3 separate regions of the Homo sapiens genome follow, and regions 2 and 3 are each linked to region 1. The links are contacts of gene promoters, found by promoter capture Hi-C in blood cells and fetal thymus (Javierre and others, 2016). All regions are on one chromosome and are shown on one strand. The core of a region is centred on a gene start or on the middle of the fragment in contact, and the rest is flanking DNA. Distances in the headings are between cores, read along the strand shown.

What was found. The method cuts DNA at HindIII sites, captures the fragments that hold promoters and counts their contacts. A CHiCAGO score of 5 or more calls a contact.
Region 2: the fragment with the promoter of TEX55 here is called in contact with the fragment with the promoter of CD80 in region 1 in 7 of 17 cell types (naive CD8 T cells, activated CD4 T cells, erythroblasts and 4 more); the score reaches 12.7 in naive CD8 T cells.
Region 3: a contact is called between a fragment that was not itself captured here and the fragment with the promoter of CD80 in region 1, in 2 of 17 cell types (total B cells and megakaryocytes). The highest score is 6.9, in total B cells.

Annotation. Positions count from the first base shown.
Region 1 is chr3:119,557,859-119,561,050 of GRCh38, forward strand. CD80 (CD80 molecule) reads right to left here and starts at 1,756. Exons shown (of 7, transcript NM_005191.4): 1 at 1,582-1,756; 2 at 1-70. LOC107986118 (a long non-coding RNA gene) reads left to right here and starts at 2,572. Exons shown (of 2, transcript XR_001740861.2): 1 at 2,572-2,887. RefSeq lists a silencer at 64-358 and enhancers at 64-358, 720-879, 1,150-1,209, 1,980-2,029. The HindIII fragment of the contact is 26,007 bases long and covers 1-2,662 here.
Region 2 is chr3:119,144,585-119,147,776 of GRCh38, forward strand. It overlaps TEX55 (testis expressed 55), which reads left to right and starts at 1,581. Exons shown (of 3, transcript NM_152539.3): 1 at 1,581-3,003. The coding sequence starts at 1,606. It also overlaps a transcript of IGSF11 not described here. RefSeq lists a silencer at 838-1,132. The HindIII fragment of the contact is 11,642 bases long and covers 1-3,192 here.
Region 3 is chr3:119,241,293-119,244,484 of GRCh38, forward strand. The region is part of intron 3 of B4GALT4-AS1 (B4GALT4 antisense RNA 1); the gene reads left to right. Among named protein-coding and RNA genes, the nearest start is that of B4GALT4, 2.0 kb to the left of the region's middle. RefSeq lists a silencer at 403-452. The HindIII fragment of the contact is 2,833 bases long and covers 289-3,121 here.

The DNA.
Region 1 (3,192 bases), core at 506-3,005:
TGTTTACAAAACACACAGAGATTGGAGGGTGTTCCTGGGTCTCCAAAGGTTGTGGATTTAGTTTCACAGCCTGAAAAAGGAACAAATAAAAGTCATTCAGGAAGGAAGGTGTGCCTACTTTGAGTTGCAAAACTCTCGAGTTGCCTGCTAAAATTAATTGGAGAGCTTAACCTAAGCAACCTCTAAAGCAGGGCGTGACCCTGAGGAAAAGCGAATGGAAATTCTGTGAGGGGACCAGTTCCAAGAACCAACCACAGCCCTTCCATGAAAAGGCTTTCTACTTAATAGGTGGGGTGAAGATTTGGTTAGAAACAGGAGAGCTCTAAGGACCCTCCATATCTGTTAGCCAACCTGCAAAAGTTCAAATCCTCTTCTGAACATACCAAGAAACATAGAGCAGACAGTAAGGGTGTATTTTGTCCAAGGCAGGACCTAAGTTATGAAACAACTTCTTTCTTGACATATTAACATAAGAAAACAAGTATCTCAATTCTTTAAACCCTCTACTCAAATAATATATCATAAAGGGGTATGAGATCTCAATAACCAGAAAAGTCTATCCATAAAAAGGGAGGGAAAAAAAGACACTGCAGACGTTACTTATCAAAATTATGTACTCCAGGGCCAGGCGTGGTGGCTCACGCCTGTAATCCCAGCACTTTGGGAGGCTGAGGTGGGCGGATTACTTGAGGCCAGGAGTTCCAGACCAGCCTGGCCAACATGGCAAAACCCCATTTCTACCAAAAATACAAAAATTAGCCAGGTGTGGTGGTGGGTGCCTGTAATCCCAGCCACTTGGGAGGCTGAGGCACGAGAATTGCTTGAATCCAGGAGGTGGAGGCTGCAGTGAGCCAAGATGATTGCAACACTGCACTCCAGCCTAGGCGACAGAGTGAGACTCCATCTCAAAAAAAAAAAAAAAAAAAATTATGTACTGTCATGTGAGGTGGCTAGGGATTAATTTTTCCAGTAAATATGTCAAAATTGAGAAATGAAAATAAACACTGTGCTCCACTGTCACCCCTTCAGGCTGCTACCAGGACACAGCCCCGTGCTGCTCAGAGAATGCTTGAGTGTCCTCTTTGGAGACCACCCTAGAGCTAGAGTTCCAGCCACGCCATATTGTTTTATTAGCCATCATCCATTTTAGACAGGATTAGTTAAAAGAGACTTATTCACCAGAATTTGTTTTTCTTAAGATAGAATCTTGCTCTGTCACACAGGCTAGAGTGCAGTGGCGTGACCATAGCTCACCACAGTCTCAACCTCCCGAGCTCAAGCGATTTTCCCACTTTCACTAGAATTTTACTGGCTTGAGAAATTCAAATACGGCCCACAAAAACAATATTTGCTAGGATCTAGGATATTTTAAAATAATGGGCCACAATTCTCACTATGATGCTCCAAATATGTCGGGAAGCCACAGCCTCCTGTGGGAATGAGACCCTAAGGGTTCCTTTGAGGGCAAGCCTGGATCCAGGAGGTGGTAGCAGAGGTATTGTTTGTTTAAAAAGCAGTGAGGTTGCTGGTAACTAGTTCTACCAAGCTATCCCATAGTAAGATAATAGTAAATGTACTTACTTGCTGAAGAAAAATTCCACTTTTTCTTTAAATCCTTTGATTTCAGGGTAAGACTCCACTTCTGAGATGTTCTCTTCTTACAGTCTATAAAGCAATGACAAATCACTTTTTCTTTGGGTAATCTTCAGAGAGGCGACATTTCCCCTTCTAACTTCTGTTACTTTACAGAGGGTTTGAGTTCACTCAGTACTTGTCAGTGCCAGGAGTTGGACAGGGTGTTTGAAGAAGCGCCCTCTGCTGCCGTCTTCTTCTAGTTGCTTTTGTAGAGGCTGTGGCTGGGGCAAATCACACAGCAGCCTCCCTCACCACCGTGCATGGACTAACAAACATGAAACACCACGAGCACCAGGCGGCCTAGGGGAGGAGAAGAATGGTGCCCGAGAAGAGTGAGGGGCATCTGGCTAGCCTTGCTGTGTGATGGGAGGCCAGCTTCATGGGCTGGCTGTTTCTGTGCTGGTCTCAAGTTTTGTTTTAGCACCCAGAGTTACTCCTGAGTCCCTGCAGGAATAAGCTGTCAACCTCATATGTAGGGGACACTTTTGGGAGAGTGCTCAGCTCACAGGACCACCCAACTCTACTCCCACCTCTGAATCCCACCATCTTCAGAGAGTGGGCTCCTGCCAGCCACGCTGGACAGTGAATTCTGGTCACCCTAGCCACAGTTGAGTGCGCCTCTGGTGGGATGAGGAAGACTTTAGTCATGCCCATCACTCCCATTTCCAACTAGGTTGCCACCCACCCCTGTGTGTCCCTTTGTAGGATTCTGGAGCCCCTGTGAGTGAGCAGCTGACCCATGCTGGACCAGTGTACTTGTTTGCACAGGTGGAACCTGACAGCACCTTGCATGGGTTGCAGTGAGCCGAGATCACAACACTACAATCCAGCTTGGGTAACAGAGCAAGACTCCATCTCAAAAAAAAAAAAAAAAAAAAGACGCCATCCTTCCCACACCAGCCAGAAAGAGAGCAAACCGTGTGGGTGAGAAATACTGACTACAGCGGCGGCTTCCTTCATCTCAGCAACAAGTTTGTGGCAGAGCTTAGTGGATACCACCCTATTCACCTGAGATTTGGAATACTGAAGCTTTGGAAATCATGAAGGCAGAACTTGCTATGAAAGGACTCCACTGCACTGTCTCCTTCTGTATTGGCAGAAGGGGCCTAGTGAGCACCCTTCTTCACCTGTGTCTTGTTCTGGTCTCAGATGCATATTTTGAATAGTTGCAAGGAATATGGATGTGACAATTCCTGCCTTACCTCTAGTAGATCAACATTACATTTTCAAGTAAAGGGAACATAGATTGGAGGTAAGTTCATGTTTTCTATTTTCTTGAACATTTATTCAGATCAAAGAAATGTTTTCACTGATTTTAGCCACTTCTACTTGATACATTATTACAATGCACTGGAAGTGATTTTTTTTCCAGGTATTTAAAGTAATAGAAAGTTATAGATGTCAACTTAAAAGAGCAAAGAAATACAGAGTTTTAGAAATTTATTTTCTTTTTTTTTTTTTAGATGAAGTCTTTCTCTGCCGCCCAGGCTGGAGTGCAGTGGTGCAATCTTGGCTCACTGCAACCTCCGCCTCCTGGGTTCAAGCAATTCTTCTGCC
Region 2 (3,192 bases), core at 331-2,830, 410 kb before region 1:
AGAAAATATCTTCAGATGAATGAAAACATAACACCAAACACTTGAGAGATGCAGCAAAAGCATCAGCTCAGAGGGAAATTTGTAACTATAAAACAGCTACATTTAAAAAAAAGATCTCAAATTGATAAATCATCATTTTGTAAAATATATACATACCTATAGATATAGACACATAGATTTGCATGGGGGTATTTCCAGAAGGATAAACATCAAAATGTCAATACAGGTTATCTCTTGAGTGTTTGGGAATTTTTTTCTTTACGCTTTCTTTTTTATATTTCTATGATTATTACATTTAAGTTATAAAATGGAAAAATAAATCTCCAAAACCAATAGCACTTTGAAGCTACAAGCCATAGCCCAAGACCTATTTTACTCTAAACACAGTATCCAATGGTGTCATGCATTTTTAAATAAATAAGGTAGATAATTCATAAAGTGACATTCAACAAGCACTTCTTGAGCACCTATTATGTTCTAGGCACTGTTACATAAATGACTTTACTTCAGTGTGCTTAGATTCCCCTTTCCATTCCTAAGTATGGTGTCAAGTGTATCCACTCTCCTTTGTCACAAGTATTTGAATTTGGATTTTAAGTCTCATTTCTAATTGTTTAATGCAGTTAAATCCCTACTAAAGGAATATCTGGCATCACACTACCAACCCTTGGCCTGCCTCAGTGATTTCAGGCTTTGCAAGGTCAAAGTAATTTGTCTCATCAATCACCACCTCTGTACTGGCCTACTCCTGAAAGTAGACAGCCTACTGACTCTGAGGTGCATTCTTAAGGTTGATTGCAAAGTGGGAGGACCAAATCTCAAAAACTGGGCCCCACTGGCCAACACTATCAAATACAAATTCTCCACTTGCTAAATATTCCTTCTGGTATCTTTCTCCCACTTTCCTTACTCCCTTCCTTTCTGGAACTCTGATTTGGCCTCCTTCTAACTCGCCTCTCTGCTGTAAGACCACTAGATGGTGCAGTTTTAGAACCCATTCTCACTGGATCTTCTCTCCTCTCTCTGGCTCTCCCGCCACAGATCACATGTCTAATCCAGCAAGAAAACACCTTGGGGCAGGAGTTTCCACTGCCAAGACAGCTATACCCAAAGGGGATGGCAATAGCAACAACCTCTGTTCAGTTTTGTGGTCCTCGTGCAGCTGGTTGTGTGTTCATCTGTTGACATTTGGAGGTGCGGTGGGGGATGTTAATCAGAGGAGCAGTACCTGAGAGAGGGCCTCTTTCTCACACACTGCGGAGAACCTCTGTGAACAAGGAAGAGGGTAACACTCTAGGTGGCGATGCACGGAGCCCCGTGGCCTGGTTGCTCGGCAGGGTGAGGAGAAGCTGTAACTGCCAGAGCCTGAGAATCGCCCCTTCTCAGGACATGGCGTACTCCCTGCGCTCGCCTGCACACTGCAGGGTCAGCTGACTGCCGTCCCTCCACTTACAACAGCGGGACGGCCACTCTCCCTGACGCACGCAGTGACCCGAACAAAGCCCGTGGGAATCATGGGGCGTTCCTGGAGGGTCGCCTAGACGACCCAGCCCAACCCCACCCACAGTGCCTGGCAACCTAGACCAGTCAGGGACGCGGCAGGAAATGGAAGAGCCTCCGCAAGAGGCTCTGGCTGAACCCTTGAAACATGAAAGCCCAGCCGCTCCCTCAAGTGCTGGCCACACTAAGGGCCAGGAAGAAGACGACCAGAAGAACCAGGCCGAAAGGAAGGCAGATAACCACACTGCTCACAGAATAGCTGACCAGACTGCCCTAAGAGTGCCTAGCCAGGCTGAATCCAGCATATTTAGCCAAGCTACCAACGGAGTAGCTGAACAAAATGGGCATAGTACACCTGGTCAGGCTGGCCGCAGAGCATCCAACCCTGCTGATGTTTCTGACCTTAGAGCAGATGATCAGGTTAATCAAACACCGTCTGAACAGACTAAAGGCAAGGCATCTAGCCAAGCTAATAATGTACAGCATGAACAGAGTGATGGTCAGGTGTCTGGCCTGACGGAGGAAAGAACTGCTGAACAGACTGAACGAAGATTACCTACCCAGGCTGAGAGAAGAACTTCTGGGCAGATTGATGGTAGACTGGCTATGCCATCTGACCAGAGAGGTTCCAGACAGACCGACCACAGAATGGCAGGCCAGTCTGAGAGAAGAGCTTCCGAGCAGATGGACCGCAGAATGTCTGGCGAGGCTGAGCGAAGAACTTCTGAGCAGATTACACACAGATTATCCAAACTATCTGAGAGAAGACCTTCTGTGCAGATTGACAGTGGGTCATCCGTCCCATCTGACCAAAGTCCTTCTGTACAGATTGACAGTGGATCGTCCGTACCATCTGACCAAAGACCTTCCGTACAGATTGACCGCAGAATGTCAGGGAAAGTTAGGAGAAGAAGTTCTGAGAAGACTGACTACAGATTGGCTGGCCTGGCTGACCCAGGAACTTCTGAGCAGACTGACCTCAGATTGTATGGCCTCGTTGACCACAAAACATCTGTAAAGACTCACCACCAAGTGTACGGCCAAGCCACTGAACTAGCTGAACACCAGGCTATTGACCAAGCTCATAGTAATGCTGATCAACCTCCAGTTGACAATGCTCACTACACTGAATCTGACCAGACTGACCACTTAGCAGACAGACAAGCTAATCATAAAGACCAGCTGTCTTACTATGAAACACGTGGCCAGTCTGAAGACAGAATATTTCCCCAGTTAGGCAACAGCAAAGAGGACAAAGAGGCTGACTACAGAGTACAACCCTGCAAATTTGAGGATAGCCAAGTAGACCTCAATTCCAAGCCTTCAGTTGAAATGGAAACTCAGAATGCAACCACTATCCCACCCTACAACCCAGTTGATGCCAGATTCACCAGTAACTTCCAAGCAAAAGACCAAGCTCTTTTCCCAAGACTCCCCTCCATCTCATCCAAATTGAACTATACCAGCAGTCAAGAAAAAACTCAAGCCATAGTAACCAAATCTGTAAGTTAAATGGGCATTTGATACCTACCTGGGAGATCAGAGATCTAGACGGGGCCTGGAGAGTAAAAATAGGGGTACAACGGAAGGGCACATGTTGCATCAAGGATAAAGAATAAACCCACATGTTGTGGTATGTGTGACCCATAATTTCAGGAAGGGCAAGAGAAGGATGGGAAATAAAAGAGAATT
Region 3 (3,192 bases), core at 455-2,954, 320 kb before region 1:
TAATAATAATAATATTTTTCCCATGTTGCAGGTCTGAGAATATTAAATGATTTTTTTAAATCCGTATTTCTTCAAAGATATTATTACAGAAAGCAAAGACAATTATATTTACACTAAAGATTTGAGTGAAAAATTATGGTAGGCTCTGTTTAGGCAGTCAGGATAGCTAGATTCTCTAATGCAGTCTCCCACTGCACTCACGGGAAAGTAGTAGATTCTCCAAGAACCACACATCCACTCCACCCAAAAAGGAACAAACCATAGCTAGAGCCAGTGCTGGGCTCATTAAGCTTCATAGCAGGAAATCTGAGGCTATACTGAGGCCGCATAGGCCCAATGTAGGCCCTTGGAAGCTGGAAAAGAGGGCCACCTAGTGGCAGTTGAGGATAGGTCAGTGAAATAGGTCAACACTGCTCCTGAACAAGGTCCAGTGTGAAACTTATTTTTTTGTGTTCCCTTTGTAACATGCTGTAAGGGTGTATAACCACATTTAGTGAAAAAGGACATTACTGGATTTCATCCAGTGGCGTTATACAATCAGTTACTTATACCCACATAGTCCCCAGGTCTTGAGCATATGATGCCTGGAAGCATAATATATACCTTTTGCAAGAATCACTCAGCTTTTCCCCTCCCCCTCCCCCTCTCTGTCTCCCTCCCCATCTCCCTCCCCCCTTTGCACGGTCCTCGTCTCCCCTTTGCATGGTCTCCCTCTGATGCCGAGCCGAGGCTGGACTGTACTGCCGCCATCTCGGCTCACGGCAGCCTCCCTGCCTGATTCCCCTGCCTCAGCCTGCCGAGTGCCTGGGATTGCAGGCGCGCACCGCCACACCTGACTGGTTTTCGTATTTTTTGGTGGAGACGGGGTTTCGCCGAGTTGGCCGGGCTGGTCTCCAGCTCCTGACCGCGAGTGGTCTGCCAGCCTCGGCCTCCCGAGGTGCCGGGATTGCAGACGGAGTCTCGCTCACTCAGTGCTCAATGTTGCCCAGGCTGGAGTGCAGTGGCTTGATCTCGGATCGCTACAACCTCCACCTCCCAGCCGCCTGCCTTGGCCTCCCAAAGTGCCGAGATTGCAGCCTCTGCCCTGCTGCCACGCCGTATAGGAAGTGAGGAGCGTCTCTGCCTGGCCGCCCATCATCTGGGATGTGGGGAGCCCCTCTGCCCAGCCGCCCAGTCTGGAAAGTGAGGAGCGCTTCTTCCCGGCCGCCACCCCGTCTAGGAAGTGAGGAGCGTCTCTGCCTGGCCGCCCATCATCTGGGATGTGGGGAGCGCCTCTGCCCCACCACCCCGTCTGAGAGGTGAAGAATGCCTCTGCCCGGCGGCGACCCGTCTAGGAACTGAGGAGTGTCTCTGCCCCGCCGCCACCCCGTCTGGGAGGTGAGGAGCGTCTCTGACTGGCCGCCCTGTCTGAGAAGTGAGGAGCCCCTCCGCCGGGCAGCTGCCTGGTCCGGGAGGTGGGGGGCAGCCGCCCAGCCAGCCGCCCCGCCCGGGAGGTGGGGGGGCAGCCCCCGCCTGGCCAGCCGCCCCGCCCGGCAAGTGGGGGGCAGCCCCCGCCCGGCCAGCCGCCCCGTCCGGGAGGTGGGGGGCGCCTCTGCCCAGCCGCCGCCCCGTCTGGGAGGTGGGGGCCCCTCTGCCCGGCCGCCGCCCCGTCTGGGAGGTGGGGGGCCCCTCTGCCCGGCAGCCCCGTCTGGGAAGTGAGGAGCCCCTCTGCCCGGCCACCACCCTGTCTGGGAGGTGTACCCAACAGCTCATTGAGAACGGGCCATGATGACGATGGCGGTTTTGTCCAATAGAAAAGGGGGAAATGTGGGGAAAAGAAAGAGAGATCAGATTGTTATTGTGTCTGTGTAGAAAGAAGTTGACATAGGAGACTCCATTTTGTTCTGTACTAGGAAAAATTCTTCTGCCTTGGGATGCTGTTAATCTATAACCTTACCCCCAACCCCCTGCTCTCTGAAACATGTGCTGTGTCCACTAAGGGTTAAATGGATTAAGGGCAGTGCAAGATGTGCTTTGTTAAACAGATGCTTGAAGGCAGCGTGCTCGCTAAGAGTCATCACCACTCCCTAATCTCAACTACCCAGGGACACAAACACTGCGGAAGGCGGCAGGGCCCTCTGCCTAGGAAAACCAGAGACCTTTGTTCACATGTTTATCTGCTGACCTTCCCTCCACTATTGTCCTATGACCCTGCCAAATCCCCCTCTCCGAGAAACACCCAAGAATGATCAATAAATACTAAAAAAAAAATAAATTTAAAAAAAAAAAAGAGAATGTAGGCCAACAATAAGCCACAGGATAACATCTCTGTCTGCCCAAATCACATTATGCTGAGGAAGTTTAATAATAAAGGAGAATAATAAAGGAGCCAAGCAAGTTAATCTAAAAAAAAAAAAAAAAAAGAATCACTCAGCTTTTCTATATTTGGTAGCTGGTAGGTTATTAATTGGAGAAGTTGGGTTATTGCTTTCAGTAAGTGTAGGAAAGCAAGTAGCAGTGATATCTACAAAATTAAAGATAGCTTTCCAATCTGCTTTTGAGGTTTTAGGGTGGCTTTCATTTCACAGAGAGGCATTGGCATTAATAAAATTGTTTCCTAGGGGTTTTTTTTTTGGCATCAGTCCAGAAACCCAACAGTTGCTCTAGTTTTTCTTGTTAGAGCATGAGCCTTAGCTAAAGCCATCTATAAATTATGGTCCCATGGATTTCCCAGCAGGAAATATGGAAAAAATAGAAAAAAAGATAAGATAGTCATGATAGCAGAGAAGTCTTGATCCATGATCTTGAGAAAGCTGTCCATGTCTAGGATGCCATCTGCTTCTGGGGAGAAACTTCCCTACCTTAAGATCTCCAACAGGTGTATAATTCCAAGAGTTTGAAGGGGCTCTTTTGAGTTACAAGGTATGGACCAAAACTCGAGGCCCTGAAGTTTTACTGTGGGTGGTGAGAGAAGTACATGATATAATCTCTTCTAATGGGATACAAGAGCAGTTTTTCTCAGATGGGATGTTATTTCCAGAAGACTCAATCTCTGAGTTCTAGATTGTGAAAGGTTGGTTGTACTCAGTGTATCACAAAAGGCTTTTACCTGGGGAAAACACACTTTCATATAATGGATTAAAGCTTTGCAGTATTTAGTTACAGCAAAGCTTATAAGAGCAGGAGATACATGAGAGTCTATTATTAAGGATA